Linked DNA regions of Homo sapiens: regions 2 and 3 are each linked to region 1. Evidence: promoter capture Hi-C in 16 types of primary human blood cells and fetal thymus (Javierre and others, 2016). All regions are on one chromosome and are shown on one strand. The core of a region is centred on a gene start or on the middle of the fragment in contact, and the rest is flanking DNA. Distances in the headings are between cores, read along the strand shown. Region 1 holds the start of TENT5C-DT (TENT5C divergent transcript). Region 2 has its middle 140 kb from the start of TENT5C. Region 3 has its middle 160 kb from the start of GDAP2.

Region 1 (3,301 bases), core at 521-3,020:
TAACTTTATTTCCTGGGCTGGTTCAGTCTCCTAACCCACCTACAAAGTAACCTGAAGACCAAGTTGTCACAATACAAATAATTATGCACATAGTATTTATAAAAGCTTTCTTACTATAAGTGCATTTTAAGCACTTCATTTGTATGCACTTTATATCTCCGTAAGAAAGCAAAAATGTTAAAAAGGAAGCAGGCCCCTACTTAATTAAGCCAGGGAACTGGTTAGAGCCCTACAAAAGCCTACCTATGGACAAAAAAGGGCGAAGGGGAAGGGAGCTGACACTATCCCTCCCGCAGGGTCCAGCCCTAATAGTGGGTTCTCCAGAAGCTCGCCAGGCATTCATTTCTCCAGGGGAGCGCCCTTACTTGGAGGTAGCGCTGCTTGGTTTTCTCGCCCGCCAGCGTTGAGTTCAGGTGTGCAGGCTACCAACCTGTATTCTTCAGGTAAGTCACCCTCCTCTGACTCGCCTCCCACCCTGCTCCCTCCTGCCTCGCGACCAGTGCGAAGGGAGTCCCCGAACTGCGACACCTCCCGGGGCAGCCGCACCGGTATCCGTCCGAGTCGACCCACTTGCCGTGGCTTTTCACCTACGCAGTAAAGCAAGTTTCATTTTCAAAAGGAGAGGAAGCAGGTTTCACAGACACCGCATTCCCAAGAAGTTTCTGAGAGACGCGCAGCGCACAAGTCACTGGCTTGGATCCCTTTGCTGCTCATGGTGTCCACAGTCTGATGTGAGCGCATTAAATTTAAGGATCTCCGCCCTTCTCCTTAAAACTCAGGACTTGGCAATGAGCCTAGGAAGCGCCCCTCCCCTCCCCAACCAGATCCAAGCCCCGGACCGCTGCGTCTCCAGCTGCGCCTAGTGAAACCGCCGAATTCGAATTCACACTCGGCGGGCCGGCGAAGGTGTGCGCGCCCGCGGGAGCGCCGGGGCGAGCCCGAGGGACTGCAAGCCAGGAAGGGAGGCATGGGTGGCGGGGGGCGCCGTCTGATCCAGGTAGGAGCGGAGGCGCCGATCACACACTCTTCAGACGCCCTGCCCGCGCCTGGCCAGCGCGCAGCCTGCAGGACGCGCGGAGCAGGAACTCGCTGGAGTTTGCCAAGCCCCAGGTCTCTGGAAAGTTGTAGCTCCCTTTCGGAGCGTCTCTTCTGGCCCTTTGGGACGGGTGTGTCAGGGGCGGGGGTCCTCGAGGGAGCAGGAGGGGAAAGGAGCACCGGGTCTCGGCACCTGTCCGCAGCTCCCCTCGGGTCCGCCTGCCCCCTACCAGGCTGGGCAAAGACCTGAGCACCACTTAGTGGGGGCGGACCCCCACTAAGTGAGCTCGCGGCTCCCTGGGGCTGCTGCCGCATCGCCGCACCTTTAGAGGAGGGGGGTCGCGGACTCACCTGGGCAATAGAAGAGGAGGCGACAGAGGCAGGTCCTTGGCGTGGGCAGGCCCCAGCAGGAGCGGCGCGACCTCTACAGCCCCTAGGCAGCGGCACCGAGTGAGCCGTCCCGCCGCCGCCCCCTCCGTTCTTATACGGCGGGACCACGCCCCCGTCCCCGCCCCTGAGCCGCCCTCCCGGGGGAGCCAGGGGCGGGGCGTGGCGGAGCCAGTCCCCTCGGGACCCTTCCGCCCGGCCCTGACGGCAGGGGCGGGGCGAGGGCTGCCCTCTGATTGGCTCTTCGGGTGAATGGTTGCCAAGAGACGAGTAAATCCTCAGCGGCGGGAAGGGGCGGGGTGCTCAGGGAGGCAGCACTGCGCAAGCGCAATAGAGGGGGCTGCGTCGACACCCACTTAACTTCGGAGTTAGTGGGACACCTTTCTTTTTGCTTAGTACGCTTTTCTGCTATTCCTGCCGCATAACTCTCTCTTCCCCAGGCTTTTCCCATCTCCATCCTATTCTCTCGCAGGCAGGTTTTTCTTCCGCCTCTCTGGGGATTTTCGCGTTGGTTCTCCCTGCCCCCAGGAGTGAGGCGGGTAACGCCCACGCCTACCTCCGGTGTGTGTTTTTGAAGTCGGAAAAAACTTAATGGTTTCTGGGCCCTGGGCACCTTTCTGATTCCCCAAGCAAACTGGCTGGAGGCGAAGGCGTGGTCTTCGGGGAGAGAGCGCCGGCGGCTCTCTGGCCCCGGGGACCACCTGTGTGCAGTTAGTGGGACGAAGGGCCTCGGGGAGTCCATCGCCAATGTCGGCAGCCGCAGCCGCTTCGGCCCCATTCGGAATGCCACAGCACTTGGTCCAGTGTGTTATATAACATGCAGGCAGGGCTTGGACACCATCCATTCATAACATAGCGAGTGGTTTACAGCCCAGGTTCTGAATTCAGACTAATCTGAGTTGAGATCTCCATGCACCACTTAAACTTTCTGTAAGGCCTTAGGCAAGTAACTGAACCAACCCTCCAACAACCTGCGTCTCCTATCTGTAGGACAAGACTAACAATGGGACAGCTCTGTAGAATTATATAAGTATTAAGAAAATACGTGGGAAACAATTAGTGCATTGCCTAGTGCCTGTTAGAAAGTGTGTGGCAAATGCTGTATGTATCAGATAGTAGCCAATGTTGGACAATGTTATTTATCAATAGACATTATTGTACTTGTATTGATCGTTTACTAGGTGCTGGGGGAAAAGATTACTTCCCAGATGCAGTATTTACATCTCCTCCGCCCTACTCTTCCAACCCTGCCTGAAATAAGTGTGGTTCTCCTGTCTGTCAGACTATGAAGAGTTCTCAAATATGTCTTTCCCAGCGAGGGAGAGGAGAGTGAGTATCCAGGAACTTTAATGCGATAGGACATCAATATGAGTGTTTATAGGGAAAGCCAGTGATCCTATTGTTAGACGCGAAATCAAGACATATGATCTGATTTTTTGTTTTACTTTTTGTTTTTGAGGTATAACATTCAGTAAAGCGCACAAATCAAAAGTGTCCAGAATGATAATTTTTTACATATGCATACCCATGTAACTGCCATCCATATCAAGATGTGGAACCTTTCCAGCTCATTCATGCCCCTTCCCATTCAGTATCCGACAAGGATTACCACTATTTTAACCTCTATCACCATAGATTAGTTTTACCAATATTTGAACTTGCTATGGATGAAATACATAACACGTACAATTTTATGTCTGGCTTCTCTTGCCCAACAGTGCGTCTATGAGATTCATCCATATTGTTGTGTGTAACAATGGTCCATTCTTTTTCACTACTGTGTATTACTTCATTATATAAATATTCAACGATTTGTGTACTCATCCTACTGTTGGTGGACATTTGAGTTGCTTCATGTTTCTGCCTTTGATGAAGCTGC
Region 2 (3,311 bases), core at 293-2,792, 140 kb before region 1:
CAAACATAAGTTCTGATAAGTGTTATGAAGGAAAAGCATAGAGCATTTTAAGGACTATGACAAGAGGAACTGATTTATATTGGGAGGTCAAGGAATGTATATTAGTCCGGAAATCTTTCAATTACAAATAACAGAAACCCAATCTGAACAAGCTTAAGCAAAAAGAAAGAATGTATTGAAAAGATATTGCTGTGGTTCATAGAAGCAAAGAAGAGGTGGCAATCCCAGCTTTGAGAAGGCGGCAAGAGTGGATGATAAGGCCAGGTGCAGGGGCTCACGCTTGTAATCCCAACACTTTGGGAGGCCAAGGTGGGCGGATCGCTTGAGGTCAGGAGCCTAGACCAGCCTGGCCAACACGGTGAAACCTCATCTCCACTACAAACACAAAAATTAGCAGGGTGTGGTGGTGCACTACTGTAATCCCAGCTACTCAGGAGGCTGAGGTAGGAGAATTGCTTGAACCCGGGAGGCTGAGGTTGCAGTGAGTAGAGATTGCGCCACTGCACTCCAGCCTAGGCGACAGACTGTCTCAAATTAAAAAAAAAAGAAAAAGAAAAAGAGAGAGAGAGAAAAAAAAATGGATAAGATTCAGAGACTGGCACACTGTCAGAACTCTCTCTCTCCCCCCGTTTCTCCCCTCCATGACTCTCTGAGTTGGCCTCATTCTCTCCTACTGCAGACAAACTTTCTCCACACATCAGAGAACATGTTTCATAGCTGAGTGGCTCTCTGGTCCAAGGACAAAAGTGTCTTCCTTTTCATCTTCTGGTAGGAAAATCAGAGAAGAATTAGATGAATCATAGGAATAGGATACTTGAACTTGGCCCACTCCAAATCAGTTCCTATCCCCATAGCTAGGAATGGTGGTTCCTTAAAGAAGGAAGGGTAGGATGAGGTGAGGGGAGGCAAAAGACTTGTTTGAGGAAGTGACATTTAAAATAACATGAGACCTAAAAGAACAACAGGATTTAGCCAGGTTGGGGAAGAACATTCTAAACTTAAAAAAATCATTCATTTATGTAGCATGTATTTATTGAGTACTTACACATGCCTGAACATGGATATATAATTGAGCGCAAGAAGATACAGTCCCTGCCCTCTTGGAGTTTATAAGTGCAAAGATTTTAGGCAGGAAAAACTGGACCTCTCAGAGGACTGTAAGAAGGCTCAAGTGACTAGAGGACAGCGAGTGAGGAGATGAGCAGCACAGGTAAAGCTGGCAGAGAAGGAAGAAGTCATAGCAGGAAGGTTCTCGCAGGCCATACTAAGGTTTGGGATTTTACTCCTAGTGCAGTGGGAGATCATTGAAGAGTCTTATACTGAGGAACAACATGATCTGGTTTGTAATCTTAAACTATCACTTTAAACTTGTTTGTTAAAGGGATTTTGAGAAAATAAAAAGTTAAAGGACACTGGTTAGAAGGCTATGGCTATAGGGTAGGCAAGAAAGAATGGTGGTTTAAACTAAACAGACATGAAGAGGAAGGTGCATATGAGATATATCTCGATGTTTTAATAAATAATACTTGGTAATAGATTGGATGTGGGGGATGAAAGAGAAGAAGGAGATAAGACGATACCCAGATTTACAAGTAACTGAGTGGATGAAGGTTCCATTTACTGAGGTGGGGAGACAATAGGAGAATTCCATTTGAGGAAGAAATTTTGACCATGTTAAGTTTGAGATGTCTATGAGACATCTAAACAAAATGTGAAGTTGGCAGATGTGTATATATGTGTGTGTGCGCGCACGCGTGTGTGTGTATGATCAACTGATGTCAATATAGAGACATGGAATGGATAATCTCAATTAAGAATGGTGTAGCATAAAAGAAGAAACCCAGGATGGATCCCTAGGGAGCTTCAACATTTAAGATAAAGATAAATGTTAAGCAAAAAATATCTGGGAAGAAGCAATCAGAGACTATAGAATCAGAGTTTGGTATTGGAAAGCCAAGAAGAGAATATTTAATAATAGAGGTGATCAATGATGTCAAATGCAACTGAGATCAAACAAAACTATCATTTTCAAGTGTCTGTTGAACTTAGCAACCTAGAGGTCATTGATAACCTCCACAAGAGTAGTTTCTTTCTTTCTTTTCTTTCTTTCTTTCTTTCTTTCTTTCTTTCTTTCTTTCTTTCTTTCTTTCTTTCTTTTTCTTCGAGATGGAGTCTCACTCTGTTGCTCACGCTGGAGTGCAATGGCACAGTCTCAGCTCACTGTAACCTCCACCTCCAGGATTCAAGTGATTCTCCTGCCTCAGCCTCTTGAGTAGCTGGAATTACAGGTGCCTGCCACCACGTCCAGCTAATTTTTTGTATTTTTAGTAGAGATGGGGTTTCACCACGTTGGCCAGGCTGGTCTCAAACTCCTGACCTTGTGATCCACCCGCCTTGGCCTCCCAAAGTGCTGTGATTACAGGTGTGAGCCACCACGTCTGGCCCGCAAGAGTAGTTTCAGGGGAGTAAGATGTGGAGGTGGGAGAAAATGAATGGAGTATTAGACCGTTCTCACATTGCTACACAGAAAGACCTGAGGCTGGGTAATTAATAAAGAAAAGAGGTTTACTTGACTCAAGGTTTTGCAGGCTGTACAGGAAGCATGATGCTGGCATCTGCTCAGTTTTCGGGGAGGCCTCAGGAAACTTAAAATCATGGTGGAAGGCAAAGGGAGAGCAAGGCATCTCACATGGTGGGAGAAAGAGCAAGTAGGGGGAAGATGCTACACACTTTTAAACAACCAGATCTCATGAGAACTCACTGACTATTGTGAGGACAGTACTAAGGGGGATAGTGTCAAACCATTCATGAGAAATCCACCCCTATGATCCAATCACCTCCCACCAGGCCCCACCTCCAACATTGGGGATTACAATTCAACATGAGATTTGGTAGGGATACAGATCCAAACCATATCAAATGGGAAGCTTTTAAAATCATGAATAAGACAAAGATGCCTGCTAATGCTGCATTAGTTCACTATTATGTTAGAGGTCATAATCAGTGAAACAATACAAGAAAAATAAATAAAAGGCATAAGAATTTTAAAAGAAGAAACAAATTGGTCATTATTTGCAGATGACATAATGTCTACATGTAAAATTGAGAGTAATTTACTAATTACCAGAATAAGAAAATTTAGCAAAGTTGCTGGGTATAAAAATGATATACAAAAGTCTATTGTATTTGTCTACTAAATCCAAATAGAAATAATAATTCTTTAAAAATTAATATCTATTGTGGCAACAACCACAATAATAAAAAACAGAAGGCACATGTGTAAGATCTTTGTGGGAAAAAAAACACAAAAA
Region 3 (3,319 bases), core at 137-2,636, 170 kb before region 1:
CCCTTGTTCACAGTCCTGACACCAGCCCCTTCCACCAAGGGACCCAGGAGAAGTCACATCCATTCATGCTCCCCATAACAAGCCTGCCAAACTTGAACCTGATTGTAGTCCCTGGAGCAGTTAAATGACCTGGCTTCAGCCCACTCTATCATTGTCCATGGCAGTCTTGCCCACCCAGAGACCTGCTCAGGAACCTAATGGAAGCCACACCAAAAAACAACCAGGTAACAGACCTGACAACTTTGGATCCAACTGTGGTTACTGAAGCAGTCCTGTGACCTGGCTTCAATTCCATTCTACTGAAGTTCAGAGGAAGTCCTGATCACCCAGAGACCAGCCCAGCTACCTAACAGGAGCATATTTAGAGACTCAAAGAAGCCATACCTCAACATGTTCCTGGTAACCAGGCTTGCCAACCACAGACCTGACAGTGAATCTGGAAACAGCCATGAGACCTGGCTCTAGCCCCACCTAACTACAATCCTGGAGTTAGTTCATCCAGGAACACGGCAGGAAAAAATCTTTACCTACTGAAATCAGTTTTATAAAGACAGGAATAAGTGTCTTCTTCAAATGCATAGACACCAATGCAAGACTACACAGATCATGATGAATTAGGCAAACATGACTGCAGCAAAGGAAACTAATAAAGTGCCAGTAATAAACCATAAAGAAATGGAGACCCATGAAATCTTTGACAAAAAATTAAAAGTAATCTTAAAGAAGCTGAAAGAGCTGCAAGAGAACACAGATAGATGACTAAACAAAAATAAAAAAAAAATACATGAGCAAAATTAGAAGCTTAACAAAGAAATAGAAACCATAAAAAAGAACCAAACAGAAATGCTGGAGCTGAAGAGTACAATGACTGAACTAAAAAATTCAATAGAAAGCTTAACAGTAGACTCTCTCATGCAAAAGAAAGAATCAGTACCTTAAAGACAGGTCATTTGAAATTATTCAATTAGAGGAATGAAAAGAAAAAGGAATGAAAAAGAGTGAGGAATGTCTACACGACCTCTGAGACACCATCAGGCAAACCAATATACACATTATGTGAGTCCCAGAAGGATTAGAGAATGAGAAAGTAGAAGAAAAATATTTAGACATAATGACAGAAAACTTTCCATGTTTGGGGAAATGAATATCCAGATCATGATGCCTAGAGAACCTCAAATAGACTGAACATCAAGAGGTCTTTACTGAACCACATTGTAATCAAACTGTCAAAAGTCAAGAGGAAGGAAGGAAGATAGGAAGGAAGGAAAGTGGGAGGGAGGGATGGACTAATTAATTGGAAATGACTTATCAACCATAAGGGAACCACCATAAAACTATCAGAAGATTTCCTAGCAGAATCCTTGCATGCCAGAAAATATTGGAATAATATATTGTAAGTGTTGAAAGAAAAAAATACTGCCAATCAAGAATATCATATGTAGCAAAGCTATCCTTAAGAAATGAGAGATAAAGACTTTCCCAGACAAACAAAAGCTGAGGGAATTAATCACCACTAGACATGACTTACAAGAAATCCTAAAGGGAGTTCTTCAAGTTTAAATGAAAGGACATTATCAACATGAAAGTACACAATTCACTGGTAAAGGGAAGTATATAGTCATTTTCAGAATATTGTAATATTGTAATAGTAGTACACCTTTAACTCTAGTATAAAAGTTAAACGAAAAAAGTATCAAAATCACTATATCTACAATGATTTGTTAATGAACACATAATATAATAAGATGGAATCTGTTACTTCAATAACATAAAATGTTTGGGGGGAGTAAAAATGTGGAGTTTTTGTATTCAATTGAAATTAAGTTGTTATCCAGTTAAAATATACTATTGTAACTATGAGATGTTTTATGTAAGCTTCATGATAATCACAAGGAAAAAAATCTGTAGTCAATACACAAAGGATAAAGAGGAAAGAATCAAAGTGCACCACTAGATATACATTATCAAATCTCAAAGGAAGACAGCAAGAAAGAAAAAAAGGAACAAGAGAACTGCAAAACAGTCAGAAAACAATTAACAAAATGGCAATGGTAAGTCCTTGCTTAATAATTACTCTAAAAGTGAGTAGATTAAATTCTTCATTCAAAAGATGTAGGACTCCATTCCAAGATGGCTGAATAGGAACAGCTCCAGTCTGCAGCTCCCAACATGATAAACACAGAAGACAGGTGATTTCTGCATTTCCAACTGAGGTACCTGGTTCATCTCACTGGGACTGGTTGGACAGTGGGTGCAACCCACAGAGGGCGAGCCGAAGCAGGGCAGGGCATTGCCTCACCCAGGAAGTGCAAGGGTGAGGGGATTTCCCTTTCCTAGCCAAGGGAAGCTATGACAGACTGTACCTGGAAAAACAGGACACTTCCACCCAAATACTGCCGTTTTCCCACAGTCTTAGCAACCAGCAGACCAGGAGATTCTCATGCCTGGCTCAGTGGGTCCCACACCCATGGAGCCTTGCTCACGGCTAGTGCAGCAGCCTGAGATCAACCTGCCAGGCTGTAGCCAGGTGGGGGGAGGGGCATCTGCCATTGCTGAGGCTTGAGTAGGTAAACAAAGTAGTTGGGAAGCTTGAACTGGGTGGAGCCCACTGCAGCTCTGCAAGGCCTACTGCTTCTATAGACTTCACCTCAGTGGGCAGGGCATAGCTGAACAAAAGTCAGCAGAAACTTCTGCAGACTTAAACCTCCCTGTCTGACAGCTCTGAAGAGAGCAGTGGTTCTCCCAGCAGAGCATTTGAGCTCTGAGAATGGACAGGCTGCCTACTCAAGTGGGTGCCTGACCCCGTGTAGTGTAACTGGGAAACACCTCCCAGTAGGGACCAACAGACAACTCATACAGGTGGGTGCCCATTTGGGATGAAGCTTCCAGAGGAAGGATCAGGCAGCAATATTTGCTGTTCTGCAGCCTCCGCTGGTGATACCCAGGAAAACAGAGTCTGGAGTGGACCTCCAGGAAACTCCAACAGACCTGCAGCTGAGGGACCTGTTAGAAGGAAAACTAACAAACAGAAAGGAATAGCATCAACATCAACAAAAAGGACATCCACACCAAAACCCCTTCTGTAGGTCACCAACATCAAAGACCAAAGGTAGATAAAACCACAAAGATGGGGAGAAACCAGAGCAGAAAAGATGAAAATTCTAAAAACCAGAGCACCTCTTCTCCTCCAAAGAATCACAGCTCCTTGCCAGTGATGGAACAAAGCTGGACGAAGAATGACTTCGATGAGTTGACAGAAGTAGGCTTCAGAAGGTCGGTAATAACAAACTTCTCCGAGCTAAAGGAGCATGTTCTAACC

The links. Contacts are between HindIII fragments. The CHiCAGO score rates a contact against its expected background, and 5 or more counts as called.
Region 2: a fragment that was not itself captured here is called in contact with the fragment with the promoter of TENT5C-DT in region 1 in 8 of 17 cell types (naive B cells, total B cells, naive CD4 T cells and 5 more); the score reaches 15.2 in naive B cells.
Region 3: a fragment that was not itself captured here is called in contact with the fragment with the promoter of TENT5C-DT in region 1 in 2 of 17 cell types (naive B cells and total B cells); the score reaches 7.2 in naive B cells.

Annotation. Positions count from the first base shown.
Region 1 is chr1:117,604,239-117,607,539 of GRCh38, reverse strand. It overlaps TENT5C-DT (TENT5C divergent transcript), which reads left to right and starts at 1,770. Exons shown (of 3, transcript NR_121626.1): 1 at 1,770-1,894; 2 at 2,604-2,751. TENT5C (terminal nucleotidyltransferase 5C) reads right to left here and starts at 1,492. Exons shown (of 2, transcript NM_017709.4): 1 at 1,387-1,492. RefSeq lists a silencer at 1,427-1,766 and enhancers at 1,677-2,177, 2,178-2,678. The HindIII fragment of the contact is 6,964 bases long and covers 108-3,301 here.
Region 2 is chr1:117,747,990-117,751,300 of GRCh38, reverse strand. No RefSeq gene overlaps it. Among named protein-coding and RNA genes, the nearest start is that of TENT5C, 140 kb to the right of the region's middle. The HindIII fragment of the contact is 2,775 bases long and covers 155-2,929 here.
Region 3 is chr1:117,768,900-117,772,218 of GRCh38, reverse strand. No RefSeq gene overlaps it. Among named protein-coding and RNA genes, the nearest start is that of GDAP2, 160 kb to the left of the region's middle. The HindIII fragment of the contact is 982 bases long and covers 896-1,877 here.